Linked DNA regions of Homo sapiens: region 2 is linked to region 1. Evidence: promoter capture Hi-C in human tissues and cell types (Jung and others, 2019). All regions are on one chromosome and are shown on one strand. Each heading gives the region's core, a stretch centred on a gene start or on the middle of the fragment in contact. The rest is flanking DNA. Distances are from core to core; before and after follow the strand shown.

Evidence for each region. The method cuts DNA at HindIII sites, captures the fragments that hold promoters and counts their contacts. A contact is called where the count stands out against the background at its distance.
Region 2: a contact is called between a fragment that was not itself captured here and the fragment with the promoter of RBPMS in region 1, in 1 of the 25 tissues and cell types used here (heart right ventricle).

The regions. Positions count from the first base shown.
Region 1 is chr8:30,382,261-30,386,407 of GRCh38, reverse strand. RBPMS (RNA binding protein, mRNA processing factor) reads right to left here and starts at 1,867. Exons shown (of 9, transcript NM_001008710.3): 1 at 1,250-1,867. The coding sequence starts at 1,315. It overlaps RBPMS-AS1 (RBPMS antisense RNA 1), which reads left to right and starts at 1,007. Exons shown (of 3, transcript NR_046205.1): 1 at 1,007-1,264; 2 at 2,711-2,864; 3 at 3,793-4,147. RefSeq lists enhancers at 738-1,409, 1,410-2,080. The HindIII fragment of the contact is 17,890 bases long and covers 1-4,147 here.
Region 2 is chr8:30,084,316-30,088,462 of GRCh38, reverse strand. No RefSeq gene overlaps it. Among named protein-coding and RNA genes, the nearest start is that of SARAF, 3.3 kb to the right of the region's middle. The HindIII fragment of the contact is 4,614 bases long and covers 159-4,147 here.

The sequences.
Region 1 (4,147 bases), core at 618-3,117:
ATCTCCTATTTATTTTGCATTGTTTGGCATAGTCTCGCTCCTCTACCTTCTCCATCTAAATAGTTACCATTTTCCAAGTGGACAATGTGCAGAGAAGTTGTATGTATTAATGAATTCCTCTGCAATTTTGGTTTCACTATCAGAATTGAAGTTTGCACACAACATAGTGTCTCAACAATGATCTCAACATTCTAACGCTTTAGAATCCGTTTACCTTCTGTGTTCACCTATATCAGGATCCAATACCTGTGTGAATCTTTTCGGGTCATATTTAGACGTGCACTTTCCTGCATCTACACACACTCTCAAGTTCCTCTAGAATGTTTAAGAACTCAACTGTGTGGGATGTTAAGAAGTACGCCAGAAATAATTTCTTGGACTCCAGATAACGTACCTGCAAAAAGAGTCATTTGGTAGGATACCACAAATATCCTACTGAATTCTGAAACGTTTGTTCCTGAGTCCGACTCCCCTTCTGACCACATCTACTCAATTTTGTTTCCACCGAAGGAACGCTCCGCAGTCACAAAACTTTCATCATGATTACGGACGCACCACCTAAAATGCATGCTCAGAAGTCAAAGTCCTATGAAAATACCCTCGATGAGCATTTGGTGAATTGCTGCGTTTTTAACCCTCTTACTCTGCTCCCCTCAGCTGCACGGCCCCTAAAATCACAAGCGTTCACCGCCCAGGCTCGGGGTCTTTGACTCAGCAGAGAAGAATGTGGCTGATGAGTTATCTATTAATCCAAAAAACCTCGGCTAGAAAGATATTTCACCAAGAACTTTTAACACGGAAAGGGAGGGGGCAGGGAATAGAGGTATCTTTTAACGAGAACTTTCCCCCGAGTTTCTTCCTTAAACTGCTCCCCCCCCGACCCTGAATCCATACACAATTTCCAGCCCCGGCCCTAAGTCCTGACCCTCCGAGTCCCGATTATCTGAGGTCACCCAGGAGTCAGCTCTCGGTTCCACTTATAAATCCCGGGCAAACAAAGCTGAGCATTATACTTACAAAAGTCTCCGAAAAGTCCTTGGAGTTACGCAATTTGGGGCCCGCAGACGCGCGTGGACACAAAAACACACGCTCCCGAGATCCACCCTCCCCGGGCCACACTGTGGGGCTGCGTCCGGGGCACGGGCCATGCCTGAACCTTCTTCCACCGCCGCGCCCCGGGCCCGCGCCCCGCCGGCCGCCCGCACTGGGTCCCGCGTCGCCCCCGCCACCACACCGAGCCGCCCAGTACCTCCTCCTCCTGAAGGTTGGCCTCGCTCGGGGTGTTCTCCTTCTCGGCTTTGCCGCCGTTGTTCATCTTCCCGGTCCTTCCTCGCCGGGCCGGGCAGGGCTGGGGCGCGGGGCTGGGCGAGGGCGCGCTAGCCCACTGGAGCCTTCCCCGGGCGCCGGGGCTCCCTCGGGCGGGCGCCGCGGGCTGTGGGGCTGGAGCTGGAGCCGGGGCAGTGGCTGTCGGGCTCGGGTTGGGCTGGGGCTCCCGCGGCGAGTCTGCGACGGCGGCGGCGGGCGACTCAGGAAGTGCAAGGGAGAGACGGGGCAGGGCGCGGGCCGGGAGCGGGGCACCGAGACAATCGGGCCCCGGGAGGGCGACCTGGAGAGGGAGGGCGGGAGCCAGGGGAGGAAGGAAGAAGGAAGGAAGGAAGGAAGCAAAGGATGGGGCGAGGACGCGCGTCCCAGGAGTAAGCGCGGAGAGTTGGGGCTGGGGGCTGCAGCCGCTGGAAGGAGGGGACGGGGGTGCCTAGAGAGGAGGAGGAGGAGGAAGAGGAGGAGGAGGAGCGGGGCGGAGGAGCGCGGGCCGCGGCTGGGACGCTGGGACCCGAGAGCCGCTGAGTACGCGCTCCAGGCAGGCTCTGGGAAGTCCGGGATGGAAGCAGCTCCCTTTCTCTCGCCTTCCTCCCTCCCCTCTCCCCTCCCTCCTCTCCGCGCCTCTCCTCCTCCCTCCGCCCTCCCTGGACGTGGGCTGCCGGCTGCAGCCCGGAGGGACGGGGCGCGGGACGGAGCCCCCCGCGGGAGGAGGGGCCGGCGGCCGGATGGCGCGCGCCGGGGAGGGGCAGCGGGCCGCGGGCGGAAGCGGCGACCCCAGCCCCCGACTCAGCGGCTGGTCGGAGGGCGAGGGCCCGGGAGGCCGAGGGCAGGGAGGTCGGGTCCCGCCGTTCCCTTGGCCCCCGGGGGCCCCGGCGTCTGCGCGCCCCGGGACTTCGGGGACCCTGCCCCGCCGGGGCCTGGACCGGGACCTGGGATGTGTGCGACTTTTAGTTTGCCGGCTTTTACCGAGGGATTTGCACCCCTGGCCCTAAGCCCACCCTTCCCGAGCCAGACCCGGTTCTTCCTCTGCTGCTTGAATGACAGCATGAGAACTCGAGGGACACCGGGGACAGCCCACTCCGGGCCGGCTTTTTCAGGACAGGGCTTCAAACCCATCTCCAGCGCGGGTCCTGCGACGCGCCCGGAGCCTTCCCCGCTTCGCTTCCTGAGCGTCCCGCGGCCCCCCGACTCCTCTCCCAACTCTCACCAGACTGTTCTGGGATTGTTTACCTGGCCTCTCCCTCACCCTTCAGAAAGCTCCTTCCTGGAAGAAAAAAAAAAATCCTGCCCTATTTATCTTTTTAATCCCACGGCTATTTAAACGGGCTAAGGGGTATATAGCAGGCACTCAATAAATATTTGTTGGCAAAGTGAATATTCCTTATTGCAGGCAGAGCTGGGGGTCCGTACGGAGGAACTTCAGAGGCTGGAAGCACGCTTGAAAAAGAAAGGGGGCCTGGGCTTTGCACCAGCTTCAGGATTGCGTACTTGTTTCCTCATCCGTGAAATGGGAGCAGCTGAATGTGTCTCCTCGAGTTTTCGAGGTGATTATAGGTTGATAGAGCTATATACAGCACCCAGCATTTATTCTTGCTTCGTTTAGGTTTACAATACATGGAAGCTAACATTATTATTAAGAAAACTTCTATTTTTCCAGGGCCTTAGAAAGCGTTTCCAATACTCGATCATTTAAGCTTATGGTTTTTTGGTTTTTTTTTTTTTTAGAAAAATGAGGGTCTCACTTTGTTGCTCAGGCTGAGCTCGAGCTCCTGGCCTCAAGTGATCCTCCTGCTTTTGGCCTCCCAAACTGATGGGATTACAACGTGGAGCCACCGTGTTAAACTCTTAGATTTGACTGCTACAAAGGTATAAATGTGGAACTCCATATATCAGTGGGTTCTGCCCCACTTCTTCCTCCCAGGAATTCTCCATCCCAGCCTGCTGCTCCTGTCTTGCACCGGTAACAGTTTCCAACTACAGTATTTGCTTAACTGTTTCTCCCCACCCCCACCAGACATTCTTTATACTTGGTTTAAGTGCTGCTGGGGATAGGGCGGGGGTGGCTGTGGGAGTTGCAGATAAGGACCCTCCCTTTAGGGAGTTTAAAGTGGTATGGTGGCTCACACTTGGAATCTCAGCACTTAAGGAGATAGAGGAAAGAGGATTGCTTGAGCCCAGGAGTTCAAGACCTGCCTGGGCAACATAGTGAGACTCTGTTCTCCACAGAGGGGAAAAAAAGAAAAGACAAAAAAATAAAGTGGTATGGAGCCAAGATACTCTCAGAATCCTCTTTCCGATTATAGAAAGCAAGGAAAATATTTGCTTTAAGGGCATTATGAGGAGAAAAACAGTAGTGATACTTGGATTTACATATTGGATTTATCTTGGGGGTTTGGAGATTTTGAAACAGGAAGATTTCCATAAGGAAAACATGTTTTTTTAATTGCTGTCATAATGTGATTTCTCTCTAAGGGGAACAAACATGTATCCTGGATGAAAATAAACCAACTCTTGAAACTGCAACCCAAGACATTCAGAAGAGATAAGGCTACAGTGAATGTGGAAACTTTGCACGTGTTTGGATGTATTGATTGCCTTAACTGGCAGCTCTTTGCACTGCCAGCTTCCCTCAATTACATGAGGAACCACGAGGGGGCAATGTCTTCCCGAGCAATAATAGCTGAGTGGTGGTCTTAGGACCCCGTGGTGGCCCATGATGCTAGCACTGTGTCTTTGGCCATTCTTGCCTGTCATGGAGCATACTCCACAGAAGGGCATGGTCTTCTTGGATCCCGGCATGGGCCCAACAAAAATGACAATGTAGTCA
Region 2 (4,147 bases), core at 1,216-3,715, 300 kb after region 1:
TCACCTCTCACTGGCGCTCTTCGCGGGATTTTGCGGCACTTACCCCGGGTGCTCCAGTAGCCCAGAAGGAGCTTGTCCCAGACAACCAAGAGGAAAAGAGGGGAAGCGAGAAAGAGAGGGAGACCCGCCATTCTGGCCAACGACCCTGCGAAGAGGGAATGGCGGTGCACGCACGGGACCCAGCCTCTGATCAAGCCCAGCAGGCGCCGGCCAGCTGCGCTGAGTGCTGGGCCCGTGGAGCCCGCGCCCACCCGGAACCTGCGCCGGCCCGCGAGCGGTGAGCGCCGGGCGCAGCCCCGGGTTCCGCCCGCGCCTCTCCCTCCACACTTCTCCGGGAGAGGAGGGAGCCGGCTCCGGCCTCGGCCAGCCCCAGAGAGGGACCCCCACAGCGCAGCGGCAGGCTGAAGGGCTCCTCCAGCGCGGCCAGAGCGGACGTCCTGGCTGAGGAGGCGCCGAGAGTGAGCGAGGGCTGCTAGCACGTTGTCACCTCTCACAGTCACTTGAGACCTTAAAAACAGTGTGTCTAAATGTTGTATTTCAAGGACCACCTAAAGCAGAATACTTTGGGATGCCTTCCAAATTCTTGACTGCTACTCCCGACCTTCTGAATTTAGAACTCTTGTGGGTAAAGCCCGGAATCTGAAAAGTTAACAAGAATCTCAAACAATTCCTGTGCAAACTAAAGCAAAGCTTGAAAGTCATTGTCGGAAAAAAGGTAGAATGTCAGTTTTCTCCACCAGTTTTCCAAGGGAACCCTAAATGCTAGTTAATGTCATATCCTTTAAATGTTCTCTATTGTTATGTAATAGCTAATTAGTGTTACCTTTCAGTTTCAATACTTCTTATATGGATGGTTTTCCATTCTCCAAAGTTAAATGGTGGAGATGAGAATGTGGATGAGAGGAAGGGAATTCTTACTTTTTCAGCAGGTGCTATTTGCCTGGTGCTTTAGCATTCATCTCATTTAATCCTCTTCACAATTTTGTAAACTGAGAATTACTAACTCTTACAGGTTGATTCAGAGAAAGCTCAGAGGAAAAAAAATCTTTTTTTGGGTCAGGGTCTCACTCTTGTCACCCAGGCTGGAGTGCAGTGGTGTGATTTCGGCTCATTGTAACCTCTGCCTCCCAGGCTCAAGCTATCCTCCTGCCTCAGCCTCCCGAGTAGCTGGGACCACGGGCATGCACCACTATGCCTGGCTAATTTTTTTTTTTTTTTTTTTTTGTAGAGACAAGGTCTTCTTACGTTGCCCAGGCTGGTCTCGAACTCCTGGGCTCAAGTGATACACCCACCTCGGGCCTCCAAAAGTGCTGGGATTACAGGTGTTAGCCACCGCACCCAGCCCCTCCTGTATACTTTAAATAATCTCTAAATTATTTATAATACCTAATAACAATGTAAATACTATGTAAATAGTTGTTATACTGTATTGTTTACAGACACCAAAAAGTCAGTCACCAGAAAGACCATGTGATTAGAGTGTTAGAGGGTTGGAAATTTCAGCCCACCCACCAACCAACAGGAGAGATCGGGGGCGGGTGGCTGGAGATTAAGCTCTATACAAACTCTTAGACAACAAGATTTCATGAGCTTCTAGGTTGCTGAATACAGGGAGGTGCTGGGAGGGTGGAGTGCCCAGCGAGGGCATGGAAGCCCCATGGCCTTCTTATCTTTGCCCTATCCATCTCTTCATCTGGCTGTTCATCTGTATCCTTTATAAATCCTTTACAATAAACTGGTAAACATAAAATATTTTCCTGGACTGACGTCTGAATTGGGGCAGTCTTGTGGGAGACTGGGCCCTTAACTTGAATTGAGTTATAGGACATCGTGTTGATGTCCTTTAGAGTTGGTTGGTGTGTAGGGAAATACTCCCCCAGCCCCTCTTCTGGTCACAGAACTGCTCTGTGTTTTGTGCCAGTAGAAAGGAGAAAACAGTTTGTTTTTTCCTTTTACAGCCTCATCATTTAGCTCTCAGCTCAAATGGTAATTTCTCAGAGAATCTTTTCTGGGCCATCCTACTTGTTATGGCACTACCTGTCATATTGCTCTGTTTTCTTCTTCAAGGTACTTATTATTATTTGAGATAGAGTCTTGCTCTGTTGCCCAGGCTGGAGTGCAGTGATGCAGTCATGGCTTGCTGCAGCCTCAACCTCCAGGGCTCAAGTGATCCTCCCACCTCAGCCTCTTGAGTGGCTGGGACTACAGGCACATGCCACCACATCTGGCTATTTTTTTTTTTTTTTTGAGACGGAGTCTCACTCTTTCGCCCAGGCTGGAGTGCAGTGGTGCGATCTTGGCTCACTGCAAGCTCCGCCTCTCGGGTTCACACCATTCTCCTGCCTCAGCCTCCTGAGTAGCTGGGACTTAGGCACCCGCCACCATGCCCAGCTAATTTTTTGTATTTTTAGTAGAGACGGGGTTTCACTGTGTTAGCCAAGATGGTCTCGATCTCCTGACTTCATGATCTGCCTACCTCGGCCTCCCAAAGTGCTGGGATTACAGGCGTGAGCCACTGTGCCTGGCCACATCTGGCTAATTTTTTAAAAACAATTTTTTGTGGAGATGGGGTCTTACTATGTTGCCCAGATTGGCCTCAAACTCCTGGTCTCAAGTGATCCTGAGCCTCGGCTTCCCAGAGTGCTGAGATTACAGGTGTGAGCCACCGTGCCTGGCCCAAAGCACTTATTTATTTGAAATGACATGATTTGTTGGCTACCTCTCCCACTAGAATGTTTATTATAACAACCTTTCATCTTTTGTTCATGACTGTCCAGAACTGTACATGGTACATGGTGGGAATCTAAAATAACAAACATTCTCTTGTTAAGGTAATTAGTGATTTCTACATTGCAAAATTCAGAGACCAAATTTTGCTTCAAGCTTTCAGCAACAGTGGACACTGTTGACCATTCTTTCTTTCTCTCAATTACCATATCCTATTGTCCTAGTTCTTCCTCCTTCTTCACCAGAGGTTACTTCTCAGATTCTTTCTAGAATCTTCTGCTTGAGGTTCAAATGTTAGTGTTTCCATAGCCTGGGCCTCCTTTTTTGTGGTATCTCAATTCTCTCATGTTACTGTGTCTCTTCCCACATGTCTTAGTTCATTTTGTGTTGCTATAACAGAATACCTGAGACTGGGAAATTTATAAAGTATAGAGATTTATTTCTTATGGTTCTGGAGGCTGGGAAATCCTAGGTCCAGGGGCCTGCATCTGGTGGGGAGCTTCCTGCTGTGTCATTTCACGGTGGTAGGCAAAAGAGAAAGGGAGCTGAACTCATCCCTTTTATCGGGAACCCACTCCCCAATAACTAACCCACTCCTGTGATAATAGCATTAAGAGCTCTGCCCTCATAACCTAATCACCCCTTAAGAGTCCCCCCTCTCAACACTATTGCTTTGGGGAATAAGTTTCCAACACATGAGCTTTGGGGGACACATTCAAACAATAGCATCATGACATTAAATGCTATCTTTATATTTACAACATAACTACCAAATTTACCTTAGTTTTGAACTTCAGACTTTTACAGTTTATCTATTTATTTGACACGTCTACCTGGATGCCTAATAGTCACCTCAAACTTAACATGTTGAGCATAGATTCTCTATTATCTCTTATTTCAGTCCTTGGTCCCAGCATTGGTTGGTTCCATGCCGAGGCCCCACTGCTCTGCCATCTCTTATTCCACTCTTCCCCTAACTTACTTTGCTTCAGTTATGGCCTTGTTTGCCTCTTGTCCCCCAAATTTTGTTTTATTCACTGCTGTATCCCCAATACTGATAACAGTGCCTGGCAGGTACTGTTAGGTACTAATAGGTGCTCAATATAATAATCTGGTAAACATAAAGTGTTTTTTTGAGTTCTGTGAGCCATTCTAGCAAATTATGGAACTCAAGATGGGGGGTTATGAAAACCCCAATTTATTTGTTGAGAGGGAGTCTCTCTCCATGGTCCAGGTGCAGTGGGGCAGTCTTGACTCACTGCAACTTTCGCCTCCCAGGTTCAAGCGATTCTCTTGCCTCAGCCTCCCAAATAGCTGGGATTACAGGTGTGCACCACCACGCCCAGCTATTTTTCCTATTTTTAGTAGAGGTGGGGTTTTGCCATGCTGGCCAGGCTGGTCTTAAAGTCCTGACCTCAGG